Linked DNA regions of Homo sapiens: region 2 is linked to region 1. Evidence: promoter capture Hi-C in human tissues and cell types (Jung and others, 2019). All regions are on one chromosome and are shown on one strand. The core of a region is centred on a gene start or on the middle of the fragment in contact, and the rest is flanking DNA. Distances in the headings are between cores, read along the strand shown.

Evidence for each region. The method cuts DNA at HindIII sites, captures the fragments that hold promoters and counts their contacts. A contact is called where the count stands out against the background at its distance.
Region 2: a fragment that was not itself captured here is called in contact with the fragment with the promoter of MORN4 in region 1 in 3 of the 25 tissues and cell types used here (aorta, dorsolateral prefrontal cortex and hippocampus).

The regions. Positions count from the first base shown.
Region 1 is chr10:97,630,914-97,637,512 of GRCh38, forward strand. MORN4 (MORN repeat containing 4) reads right to left here and starts at 2,587. Exons shown (of 5, transcript NM_178832.4): 1 at 2,434-2,587. RefSeq lists an enhancer at 2,851-2,940. The HindIII fragment of the contact is 11,879 bases long and covers 1-6,599 here.
Region 2 is chr10:97,554,651-97,561,249 of GRCh38, forward strand. The region is part of intron 1 of UBTD1 (ubiquitin domain containing 1); the gene reads left to right. It overlaps LOC124902488 (a long non-coding RNA gene), which reads right to left. Exons shown (of 3, transcript XR_007062259.1): 1 at 6,411-6,599. Among named protein-coding and RNA genes, the nearest start is that of ANKRD2, 15 kb to the right of the region's middle. The HindIII fragment of the contact is 5,776 bases long and covers 281-6,056 here.

The DNA of each region.
Region 1 (6,599 bases), core at 1,337-3,836:
TCATCTCAGCCACTGCAACCTCTGCCTCCTGGGCCCAAGCCATCCTCCCACCTTAGCCTCCTGAGTAGCTGGGACTACAGGAGCATGCCACGACACCCAGCTAATTTTTGCATTTTTTGGTAGAGACAGGGTTTTACCACGTTGCCCATGCTGGTCTTGAACTCCTGGGATCAAGTGATCTGCCTGCTTCAGCCTTCCAAAGTGCTAGGATTACAGGTGGGAGCCACCATGTCTGGCCCAATACTTTAATAAGGGATGCAAATCAGTATTTCTATCAGTTATCCAAATCATATTTTTAAAGAGAATATATGGCTCAGGAGTTTAGGCTACAGATACACCCATGGAATCCAGTCACAAACCAAGATGATTCACACTTCTAAACAGACACTCACCCTTTCTGCACTCCTGATAGATGGGTTGCAAAGGATCAGTCCAAACATTTACATAAAAGAAAATTACTATTCTGTCCCTGTAAACCAACACACTATTAGTCTGCACTATATACCATATTCCTGGTATCTTCATTTTCTTTTGTCCCAGACATTTCTTTTTAATTATTATTATTTTCTTATTTCCAAACAGAACTCTGAGGCAATAACGAGAATTTTTGTTTCCGTTCTTTTTATCGTTTTCTAATTTTAAGAAATCAACGTATTAAACAACATTTTTGTATTCACAGTAAACTGTGTCCAATTTAAGAGGATTAAAAAAAAAAAAACTGACATAAAGAGGAAAAAGGGCCAGGCATGATGGCTCACTCCTGTAATCCCAGCACGTTGGGAGGCTGAAGCAAGAGGATCGCTTGAGCCCAGGAGTTCAATACCAAGCTGGGAAACGTAGTGAGACCTCATCTCTACAAAACAATACAAAAATTTGCTGGGTGTGGTGGTGCATGCCTGTAGTCCCAGCTACTCAGGAGGCTGAGGTAGGAGGATTGCTTGAGCCCACAATTTGAGGCTGCCGGGGTGAGCAGTGACTGCACCACACCTGTACTCCAGCCTGGGCAACAGAGCCAGACCTTGTCTCAAAAAAAAGAAAAGAAAAGCAAAACAAAACAAAAGGTTGGGGCGGTGGGGGAGATCCAGTTAGAGAATACTGGGTGGAGGCAGCCACCCTAACTACCCACATGTCCCCCCAGAACCACCCTTCCCAGGGTACAATAGTCTTGTCAAATTATTTCAGTAATAAAGAAAGCAGTTCATAAGCTTTTAGAATCCTAAAGAGAAGAAAATGAAGGCTTTGATGAACAAAGATTAGCCTTGTTAGGAACCTAGAACAAAAAGTCAAATAATACTCCCCTTTTTTTTTTTTTTTTTTTTTTTTGAGACGGAGTCTTGCTCTGTCCCCCATGCTGGAGTGCAGTGGCAGGATCTTGGCTCACTGCAACCGCCGCCTCCCAGGTTCAAGCAATTCTCCTGCCTCAGCCTCCTGGGTAGTTGGGATTACAGGCACGTGCCACCATGCTTGGCTAATTTTTGTATTTTTAGTAGAGACGAGGTTTCACCATCTTGGCCAAGCTAGTTTTGAACTCCTGACTTCGTGATCCACCCGCCTCGGCCTCCCAAAGTGTTGGGATTACAGGCGTGAGCCACCGCGCCCGGCCTAAATATTTTTTTTTAAGTGTTTTAAAAGGAGCTCGAAATAACTGTTTTTCATTATAAGTCTAACCTCCTCTTTCCTCATGTGAAAAGTAAAGAAATGTATCGTTGCTATATGAAGGGTTCGTTTAGGGAAGACTGTGGGATGGTTAGATTGAAGAAAGTGGGAAGAAAATACTGGCGCCAAAAAGATTTTTTTTTTTTTTTATTTAAAGGCGATGATGACCTGGGGGTGATTGGGACTAGGGAGTAATACTGCCAGAATACTATCCTATTTCACGGGAAAGGGAATGCCAGGGCTGGACTCCGATATAGCAGTTATTCCTGCTGGTACCTAAGCAGTTCAGAGATGCTAGAATGCAGGGATACCACCCATCAACTAAATGAAGCATCCCATTCCCCAGGCTTCCATATGTGGGAGTTCTCTCCACCAGTGAGATAAAGGCGGGCTCAGGGAAAACAAAGCCCTAGACCACAACAAGGCAACACCTTCTCGCACCCCATTTTCACCTTCCAGGCGCGTTCCTTCCTGCTATCCGGGCCCGCTCTCCCGCCCGGCAGGGTCTAACGCTCACACAGGTCTGCCAATTCCCCTGATGCAACCCTCCACCCTCTGCTCGCTAACCCCAGTCCAGTCAGCTCTCCCGGGCCTCGACCCCCGCGGTGGAGACTAAAGGGTTCAGGTTTGGGTCCCCCACAGGCAACCGCCCTCAGGTCAGCGTATCCGAGGTGGAGCCGCGCCCCCGAGCCGGGTCATCTCGTGCTCCGTTCCTCAGTGCCCACCTGACCGATCACACTCTTTCCCGGCCCCCTCCCTCCTGCGCCTCCAGCCAACCTGGGGCCGGCCTTTCGGGATGACCGTCACGCCTGGACGCAGGGTTCCAGCGCCTCGGACTTTTCCTCTGATGGGCTCCCGGCTGCCACCTTGCTCTCCGCCACCTCCACCAGCGATTGCCCCACTTGACGCCGCCATCCTGGGCGACCGCACTGGGTACAATTCCCGCTGCCCATTGGCTGTTACCTAGGCAACCGGGAGCAACGCCACTCCGCATTGGCCCAGCCCGGCTCCACGCCATCTTTGTGCGGGGCCGAGTGTTTGCGAACCCGGGCTGACTATGTGAAAGAGGGGTGGTCCCACCTCTGCAACGCAGATAAAGACAGAGGATCCAGATCTGGCCTACCCAGAGGCCGTCTAGTTGAAATGGCAACCCCAAAGAAAACCAAACCTGCGCCCGAAGCAACAGTGACCATCAACGCGAGCGGCTCTGATCTTGCTCCAGTCCCCACTGCTGTCAAGGGCCCCGCCGCGGAGTTTAAGGCAGATCCTAAATCCAGCTTCAGAGAGGCAGCTTTGTAAATTGTAACGCGCTAGGCAGGATAGCCTCCAATAACTCTGTGCTAGACATTGTGATATCAAGACACTTTTGCATTCATTATAGGAATTTGTGCTGTCCTTGTCATTATCTAGATCCTTTTTGTTTAAAATATAGTACCTGGCCAGGCGCAGTGGCTCACATCTGTAATCCCAGCACTTCGGGAGGCCGCGGCTTGAGCTCAGGAGTGCGGGAGGCTTGAGCCCAAGAGTTCTAGATCAGCCTGGGCAACGCAGGGAGACTCCGTATCTACAGAAGAAAAAAATTACCCAGCCTAGTGGTGGGTGCCTGTAGTCACAGCTACTCAGGAGGCTGAGGTGGGAGGATCCCTTGAGCCCAGGAGGTTGAGGCTGCAATAAGCCATGATTCTGCCACTGTACCCCAGCCTGGGCGACCTAGCAAGACCCTGTCTCAAATAAATAAATTGCAAACCAAAAAGTATCTGAGACAGGTCTCAATCAATTTAGGAGTTTATTTTGCCAATGTTAAGGACATGCCCGTGACACAGCCTTAGAAGGTCCTAAGAATGTGTGTCCAAAATAGTCGGGACACCACTTGATTTTATACATTTTAGGGAGACGTAAGACATCAATCAATACATGTAAAATATACATTGGCTTGGTCCCGAAAGTGGGGGTGGGGGTGGCAAGTTCCAGGATGTAGGTGGATTCAAAGATGTCCTGATTGACAATTGGTTGAAAGAGTTTAAAGACCTGGAACCCACAGAAGGGAATGTCTGGGTTAAGTTAAGGAATTGTTACTAAGATATGCACGCACACACACACACACACACACACACACACACACACAAGGAATTGTGGAAATCAAGGTTTTTATTATGCAGAGAAGGCTACAGGTAGCAGGCTCCAGAGAGCATAGATTGTAAATGTTTCTTTATTTTTTTTTTTGTTTTGAGACAGGGTCTCCCTCTGTCACCCAGTCTGGAGTGCAGTAGCTGGATCACGGCTTACTGCAGCCTTGACCTCCCAGGCTCAAGTTATCCTCCCACCTCAGCCTCCTAAGTAGCTGAGACTACTGGTTCATTCCACTATGCCTGGCTTATTTTTGTATTTTTTGTAGAGATGGTGTTTTGTCATGTTGCCCAGGCTGGTATTGAACTCCTGGGCTCAAGTGATCCTCCCATCTCTGCCTCCCAAAGTGCTAGGATTACACGTGTGAGCCACCAAGGCTGGCCAGTGTTTATTATCAGATTTAGAAAGGTATCAGACTCTTAGTTAGTTCTCCCCTGGATCAGGAAAAAGACCTGGAAAGGGAAGGGGATTTTCTACAGAATGTAGATTTTCACCATAAAAGACACCTTTGCCTGCTATCATGACAGATGGGGCCTGCTATCTGTCAATGTTGGTATCATTGCTACAAAGAGTCTGCTGTGTCAACCTTAAGATCTCTGCTTTAATGTTAAATGCTGGTCCTGAATTCCAAAAGCAGGAGAAAATAATGAGGCATGTCTGACTCCCACTTCTCATCATGGCCTCAAATAGTTTTTCAGGTTAATTTAGGAATGCCCTTGGCCCAGAAGAGGAGGCCATTCATTTGATTGGGGGGCTTATAATTTTATTTCTGGTTCACTAGATAAATAAATAAATAAATAAAATATAGTGCCAAGATTGGAGCAAATCTTCCCAAATACCACTCACATCAATCTGTGTATCCATATGTTTATTTCTTAAACAATGTGAGTACAGCATGATGCTAGGTTCTGTCAGGCTTGAAAAGCCATGATTGTTACTCTTATGGCCTTTATAATTAGCTGAGTGTGGTGACAAGTGCCTGTGGTGCCAGCACTCGGGAGGTTAAGGCAAGAGAACTGCTTGAGCCTGGTTAACAGAGACCCTGTCTCAAAACATAAATAAATAAATAAATAAATAAATAAATAAATAAATAAATAAATAAAATGTAGTTTCTTGGCCAGGGGAATGACACACTACAAGCAGTATTTTATGAAAATTAATCTGACAGTGACACTCAGAGATGACCAGTGAGAGATTGGAAGCAAAGTAACAAACTCAGAAGTTATTGTAATAATGCAACTAACACATCCTGGAAGTTTCATGTAGCATCAGTGGAGATGAAAGAAAGGGGGTAAATATGAGACATATTTCATAGGGATATTTAATAAGAATCAACATAGTGTTAAGAGCATGGAAACAGTCTGCCTGGATTTGGATCCGGCTCTGCCATTTACCAGCTGAATGACCATGGGCACATTACCTTTACCTCCCTGGGTCTGGGTTTCCAACATCACAGGATACTATAAAGCTGGTTCCATGAGTTAATCCATGTAATGCATTTAAAACAATGTCTAGGCCGGGTGTGGTGGCTCATGCCTGTAATCCCAGCACTTTGGGAGGCCGAGGTGGGCGGATCATGAGGTCAACAGATCGAGACCATCCTGGCCAACATGGTGAAACCCCGTCTCTACTGAAAAATACAAAAATTAGCCGGATGTGGTGGCCCGCGCCTGTAGTCCCAGCTACTCAGGAGGCTGAGGCAGGAGAATCGCTTGAACCCGGGAGGCGGAGGTTGCGGTGAGCTGAGATTGCACAACTGCACTCCAGCCTGAGTGACAGAGCCGGCTAATTTTTGTATTTTTAGTAGAGACAGGGTTTCACCATCTTGACCAGGCTGGTCTCGAACTCCTGACCTCGTGATCCACCCGCTTCGGCCTCCCAAAGTGCTGGGATTACAGGCGTGAGCCACTGTGCCTGGCCAAAAAATTTTTTTAGATAAAATAAAAGACTCTGAGGGGTTTCTGTGGAGAAAAAACTCAGAATTCCAGGGAGAACTCTAAATCTGGGACCTTTCCTTTACCATAATTTGAAGCTTATGGGCTAAATGAGATGAATGATACCAAAAGATTATCTATGTGGCTACAGACCCTGGGCCACAAGAGCCAGGCATCAGTTGATTATTGAGGTCTAGATAGGAAAAGGAAGTGCATGTATTATAACTGAAAGGGGCAATTTAACCTTCTGTACGACTTTTGTTTAGAATGGTTTGTCTGGCCAAAAATGTTTAAGACATTCCCATACATATAATTAAACAATAGTGCTTTCAATTTGGTATTTCTAGTTAGCAGTGGCAATAATTTGATTCAAGAAAGAATGATTATGAAATATTGGTGACTATGTGACTGGCCATGATTCGTGAAAGCCCATACCTCTAGTCTGCTGGTGACTTTAAGCATAAAAACAAAAACAACATCAACAGTAACATCAGCAGTGATTTTTTTTCAAAAAGCTACCATATGTTGAGTGCTCTTTATGTACAAAACACTATGCTAAGTGCTTTATTTTTATTTTTCCTATTAGAGAGTCATGCTTCATATGCTAAGTGCTTTACATAACATTATATTGATTCTTGATTCAGTAATCATGGGGATGATTATTCCCATTTTATAGATTAAGGAACTGAGGCTTAGAGAGGTTATATAACTTGTCTAAAACAACTGATCATCATGGAGACTGGATTCAAACTCAAATGTCTCTGATTTCCAAGCCCATGCTTCCAACCATTACATTTTACACTTTTTTTTTGAAACGGAGTCTGGCCCTGTTGCCTAGGCTGGAGTGCAATGGCACGATCTCAGCTCACTGCAACCTCCACC
Region 2 (6,599 bases), core at 1,919-4,418, 76 kb before region 1:
AGTGACCCTCCCATCTCAGCCTCCCGAGTAGCTGGGACTACAGGTGCATGCCACCACACCTGGCTAATTTTTTTTATTTTTTGTAGAGACGAGTGGTCTTGCTTTGTTGCCCAGGCTGATCGTGACCTCCTGGCCTTAAGTGATCCTTCCACCTCAGCTTCCCAAAGTGCTGGGATTATAGGTGTCAGCCACCATGCTGGCCAAACAGTGAACATTTTTAAATGTCACAAAGCCTGGTCTCTTTCTTCTGTGGGAAGCCTCTTTTGTAGACAGTGCTGACAGCTTGGTCGTGCCCTTTCTCAACCCTTGGTAGATTAGGAGTGGTCCATGAGCTGGGCCTGCCCTCTCCCCATGTTAGGAGCAGCAGACAGACGAGACCAGTAAGAAGTGCAATCTGGCAAAGAGGAAGGAGGCAGGGAAACTGTAGAATCAGCTCAAGAATTTAAAATGCCATTGAAGCTAAACAGCTGTTTAGGGAAGAGGCAGAAGTCCCATACCCAAGGATCCCTGAGGGAGTCACTGTATAATGATTGTGACTCCTGGTGGATCAAAGCTCTCATTAGGGGGTCATCCCTGCTAAATAATGAAAGAGAAAAGGAGTCCAGAAATCATGAAATGGAGCAACTTCCTTGGTCAAGGCATAAACACCTCCAGGCTAAACTTCATAAAAAATATCTAGATGAAATTGTAACCTTCAGTTTCTTCAGTGTCTCCTTTCTGTCCCTCATATTTAAGCCTTTGATTAACCTGGTTTTGATTTTTGTGGCTCACGTGAGGTGGGGATTGGAGTTCATGTTTCCATCATAGTCCCAGTGTAGCAGGACGAGCCACAGACAAAACCTCTCAGACACCGAGTTGTAGAAGGAAGGGCTTTATTCAGCTGGGAGCATCGGCAAGCTACTGCCTTAAAATCCGAGCTCCCCAAATGCACAATTTCTATCCCTTTTAAGGGCTCACAACACTAAAGATTTCACATGAAAGGGTTGTGATTGATTTGAGCAAGCAGGTGGTACGTGACGGGCTGCATGCACCGGTGGTCAGAGAGAAACAGAACAGGGCAGGGAGTTTCGCAGTGTTCTTCTATACAATGTCTGGAATCTATGAATGACATCGGTTTCTAAGTTATGAGTTGAGTTTTAACTGCTGGGTTTAGGCCAGGCAGGCCAGGCGTGGTTTCGGGCCTGGCGCTGGGCTGCCTGTCTTTGGTTTTACTTCCTTGTTGTTTTTTCTTAAAATGGGTACTGAGTATAAAACCATATAAAACAATATGAGAGGGTCTCTCTCTTCCCTCATTTCCCCCCTTTGAGACTCTCACTTTTTATTAGTGGGAGTTCTCACTCTTATTTTTGCTACTTATGTCTTTTTGTGCAATAGATTGATAGTGATTTATATAGTATGCTTGTGCTGAAGCATTTTGGTGAACTAAGGTAGTGACGAAGTTTTTTATCATTTGGAGAAATACAGGTATCAGACAAGGGAGCAGTAAGCAGGTTCCTATTACTATTATTACTCTTATTATAAGAGTTTTAAATTCTTCTATTGCTGGGAACCAATTTCCAAACATGGCTCCCAGATTGAGTCCATGCCACACTTGCATGGGGGCATGTGCCAGTTTTGTTATATCTTTAACTATATCCTCAACTACTTGCCTGTGATCATCTATGTGTAGACAACAATTAGTAAGGTTAAATTTTTCACAAACACCTTCTTCAGCTGCTAGCAAGTACTCAAGAGCTAGTCTATTTTGATAGATAGCATTTCTCATCAGAGTCTCTTGCCAGGCAAGAACAGTCAAGTCTTGACCGGTTTTATTAGTAATAATTTCTAAAACAGCTTGTAACTGTGTGATTCGGTTGAGCATGTAGATGGGGGTTCAATATCCCCATGAGCCATCTTGTGCCAAAGTGGCTGGTCCATAGTATTATATGATTTTTTCAGGGGGCCATTTATCATCTTTCCAATCACCTATGGCTATGCTTCGTTTTTCGCGGGAAGCATAGACTGGGAAGCCCAGAAGTTTACCTGTTTTTATGGGCAGTAAGAAGAAAGATGACTTAATGGTGCCAATTACACAGCTACCTGTCCACTGATCAGGCAGCTTAGCATAAGCTCTGTGTCCACATATCCAGTATAACCTGGCGGGGGCCGTCCAGTCCCAGTGGAATTCTGGGTGGGCCCAAACAGTCTGCAACTTTGGAAATTTACTGAATGGATTTCTTTCTGTGTAATTGGAACTCCACCATGTAACTGTTTTTGTGGTACCATTTTACAGCTTTTGCCCAAGACAACTAAGCCGCCCTACAGGATGAGTGAATCCTTTTCCTTCTCTAGCTATGCAATACTGTCCAATAATTGAGACTTTTAGAACCCAAAAATTGTCAGGGTGGTTCTTTGGGGCTAAGAATTCATCAGGAACTGGGTCTGTAGGAACTAAGTGTCGGACTTCCCATGGCCATTGATCTCCTGTTACGGTTCCAACACAAATATAACATGAGGTGACTTGTAGAGACTGGGCTACATGTTTGGCTAATTGCAAAAATAAATTTTTAGTTTTTCCTGGAATCTCAAGTACTGGCACATTTAGTTCATCATAGAAAGTCTGAAATACTGTTTCTGGAGAGCGTTTTTGAACCTCTCTTTTTATTAGGATGCTTACACTAGGATCTAGTCCTTTTCCATCAATGCCTAATGTTGCATGTTTTTTTTTTAATTCCACTTTGGGTCTGAGGGGTTTGTGATTATCAATTCTAAAAGGTTGCAGCTCCCACTCGTGCAGGAGGGGCTGACTTTTCCTTTTTGGAGCTAAACAGGATCTTTTTTATCTTCTTTTCAAGTAGCCCAAATGACACAAGACCAGTACTGACACATCTCACATAAATATGATTCTTGACAGATATACTTATTTTTTTTTACTGTGTAACTTTTTTTTCCAATTTAGAGAACCGCATCCTATTCTATGCTGCTTACTATCAATAGTGGCACAAGCATCAAATTTTAAGGTTACATTTTTGGGACCCCTCTTTCTTCTGTTCTAGCTGTTACCTTACTTGTGTCACCTAGAAAAGGACCAGTCCTTAATTTTATTTTAAAAACTGTGATCATGGGAGGCTTAAAATGGGTCATAACACACATCAGGTTGGTTATTTCCTGGGCTACATACCTTGGATAGAATAGCATTATACAAACAAGTTTCTTTTAGAGTCCTGGTACACTTATAATAATCATAAAATAATAGGACTGTGGCAATCTTTTGTCTTACCTCAGTGACTTGATATATATACTGGAAACAGTTCTCAGTCTGAGAAAGGTCAGTTGAAGTCCTTACTGTACAAGTCTAAATTTTAAGGAAAATGAGTCCTGTGATGAGTTTCCTCATGCTTCGGCCGTGCGTGGACCAGTCAGCTTCTGGGTGTGACTGGAGCAGGGCTTGTCGTCTTCTTCAGAGTCACTTTGCAGGGGTTGGCGAAGCTGCTCCCATCCACGTACAGCTCCCAGTCTACTGATGTTTAAGGGTGGTCTTGGTGGTTGGGCCTACTAGAATAAACTGAATCCAATACTTCTACACAGTTATGTTTAACTGGGCTCTCTGATACCAGGAGTAAGGTGGCGGGGTTAGGGTGTTGCAAACTTCAATGGTTATGCGGGGATCTTCACAGAGCAAGCTTTGGTATCTAGTTAGTCTAGCATTCGTTAGCTAATGATGTCCTTTGGTATTTATTAAAGTCACCACAGCCTGGGCATACTTTAGGTTTTGCTTAAGAGTTAGCTTATCTGCTTCTTGTGCTAACAGGGCCGTTGCTACCAGGGCCTTTGGACGTGGGGGCAGCCTTTGGAAACCCCATCTAGTTGTTTTGAGAGATAGACCACTGCCCTTGGCCAGGACCCTACAGTCTGGGTTAAAACTCCAACTGCCATTTTTTCTCTTTCTGACACATAGAGTGTAAAGAGTTTTGTCAAGTCAGGTAGCCTCAGGGCTGGGGCCGACATGAATTTTTTTTTTTTTTTAACTCATGAAAAGCTCTTGCTGTTGGGTGTAATAGATGTAGTTTATCTAATTTACATTTTTATTGACTGTCATTTACCAAAATACTGACTTAAATCTTTTAACTATTTGATTTTAAGCTTTAAATTGATCTGGTATTCCTTGCGGGGCTTCGATTGCATCTAAATAGATGTGAGAGTTGAAAGACCTATAAGGGGCTTCTCTCGTTTTACGATGTCTTATTATTTTTTTTCTTCCTCTGGTTGATGAAATGCCAGGGTGAAAGGGATAGCCAAATGGACTAAAGCACAAGTGCCACTCTAGTTATTCAGCAGAGTGCCCAGTAAAGGTCCACCACAATACCACCACGCATCCGCTCGGGGATGAACAAGGGCTGACTGATTGATAAGCTCTTGAAAATTCTTAAGCTTGCTGCATCCCTTCAGGTCTCCACGGAATGCTAAGTCTCCTCCCTGCCATGAGAGACACGAAGTGAACTTAGTGTTGGGAGACGGAAGCTGGATGGCCCTCGGGGGCTGACCCACAGGGACTTCGGGATATAGCAGAGAGAGCTTGGCATGACTTATTACTCCAGGCTGTAGAATTCTGGAAAAGAGCTACCATGCAGCCCACGCCTGGTCGACTGGAGGACCACCTTAGTGGAAGGGGGACAATCAGGGCCTCTGGCCTGCCATGTGCACAAGCATAACAATTGCATTTGTTTAAAGTGCAGATGGAATATTTGATCCATTTCAACCAGGCATTTGCATCTTGGTGTGCTGTCTTAATTGCCAAAGTTTGTTTTAAGTCTAACTTTTATGATCCTCTAGTAAAATGAATGTTTCCTTTAGCACCAATTTTTACTAGTTTTTAGACCAAAGAAAACTCAACACCATTTTATATTTAATAATATTTCTTGTATGATTTTTATACCAGAGAAGCTAAATTTTACCTTTATATTAGTGTGTTATTAATATTAAACTTAATTTTAATAAAACCTTGTAGACATATTTATCCAATTTTTCATGTTTGACCATAAGGTAAGATTTTATAGACTCTTTTTAACCTTTTATAATTTTTGTAAAAGAGCAGGTTGATGCTTAAAGAAAAACCTGTTGCATTTTTACTTTAATGTCCAGTTCACCGAAAAACTGGATGATACCTTTTTAACTTTAGCTAATATGTTTACACACAGAATTTTCTTTATAATTAACGTTTTAAAACTTGCTTAAACTTTTAAAACATTAATTTTTTTAATCTTTTAATGTAGATAAAAATCCACATTTTTATGCCCCTTTATAATCTTTTTACCAAAAGTATATTTTACTTTTCTCATACACCTTGCACATAAACTGTTTTTTTTAATAGTCTTCAGGAGGCCTTATTACTTTTAAATTATACAACATTTTTTGCATAAATTTTTTATAACATTTTTTCTTTCATGACTTTCACCAGCAATTCTTTAACATGTTTCAACTTTTTGACTTGTTACAAACATTTTTTTTTTCTTTAAACAACCACTTAATTTATTTCAGGACAAGAATTTACCATATAACACTCTTTACATAAATTCTGCCTCACCCTTTTTTTGAAGATAACCATTCCTTTTTTTAAAGCAAACTTTCTTTATGTCTTTGGACTAGACTGTCTAAGGCCACAAGATTAGAAGTTACCATAATACATGTTACACTGTTAACTTTTAGCAAACTTCAGTTTTGTTGAAAACCTTGTAAGTTTGGGATTTCAATCATCCTTTGCTATTAATAAGACCTTGTTTAGTCTAAATTAACTTAGAATTGGTATAGATGGCCTTTTTTTCTCTCTGCTGGTCTTTACTTGCCTCTGCCAGCTGCTTATGCTGCTGTTATTTTAACTACTGTGGAGGGGAAGGGGGTCTAAAACCAGCTGTAACTATGTATGGAAACTGGTCTGGGTGCCTTGGCTTACAGGTTACCTTGTGTCATACCTTTGAAACAAGGGACCTGTCCAGGCTTCCTTCTGATCGCCAACCCACCTCTAATGCTGGCCAGTCTATTTCACACAAAGTTCTAAGTTTTCCTGGTGTCACAGTAGCACTGTAATCTCCCTTAAATTCTTCCTTGAAATTTTTTTTTTAACATAGTTCCTAGTAGGGTGGGCTTATTTGTGCCTGGCCCATGCTTCTTTGAGACAAAACACCACGCTTACACCACACACACCCCACAAAACAAAAAACAGGTAAAAAGGGCACACACACACTTTTGCAGTTTACACCAAACCAAAATCAGAGTATCCAGAAATCCAAGCCAGGTCAAAACCAAAACCAAAGTATCACACAATCTAAGTCAAGTCAAAACCAGAACAAAAGTACCAATGCAGGCACGTCGTGGGTGATCAGGCCACACTTCCACTCAGATGGAGTGGGGCAAGTTCCAAAGACTAGTCTTACCAAGTTTCAGATGTCCGGACTCCAAGTACCGGTTCCTTCCTGGTGTTCAGCCACTGTGTTAATCCTCCGTGGGGGCCTGCTACGTGCTGCTCTGGTGAGGCGTTCCACCGGGTCAATTTCCTACCCGGGAGCGCTCTTTGGATTGCATCACTCAGGCTGGCCGGAGTTCCCCACAGGGATGCTCCACAG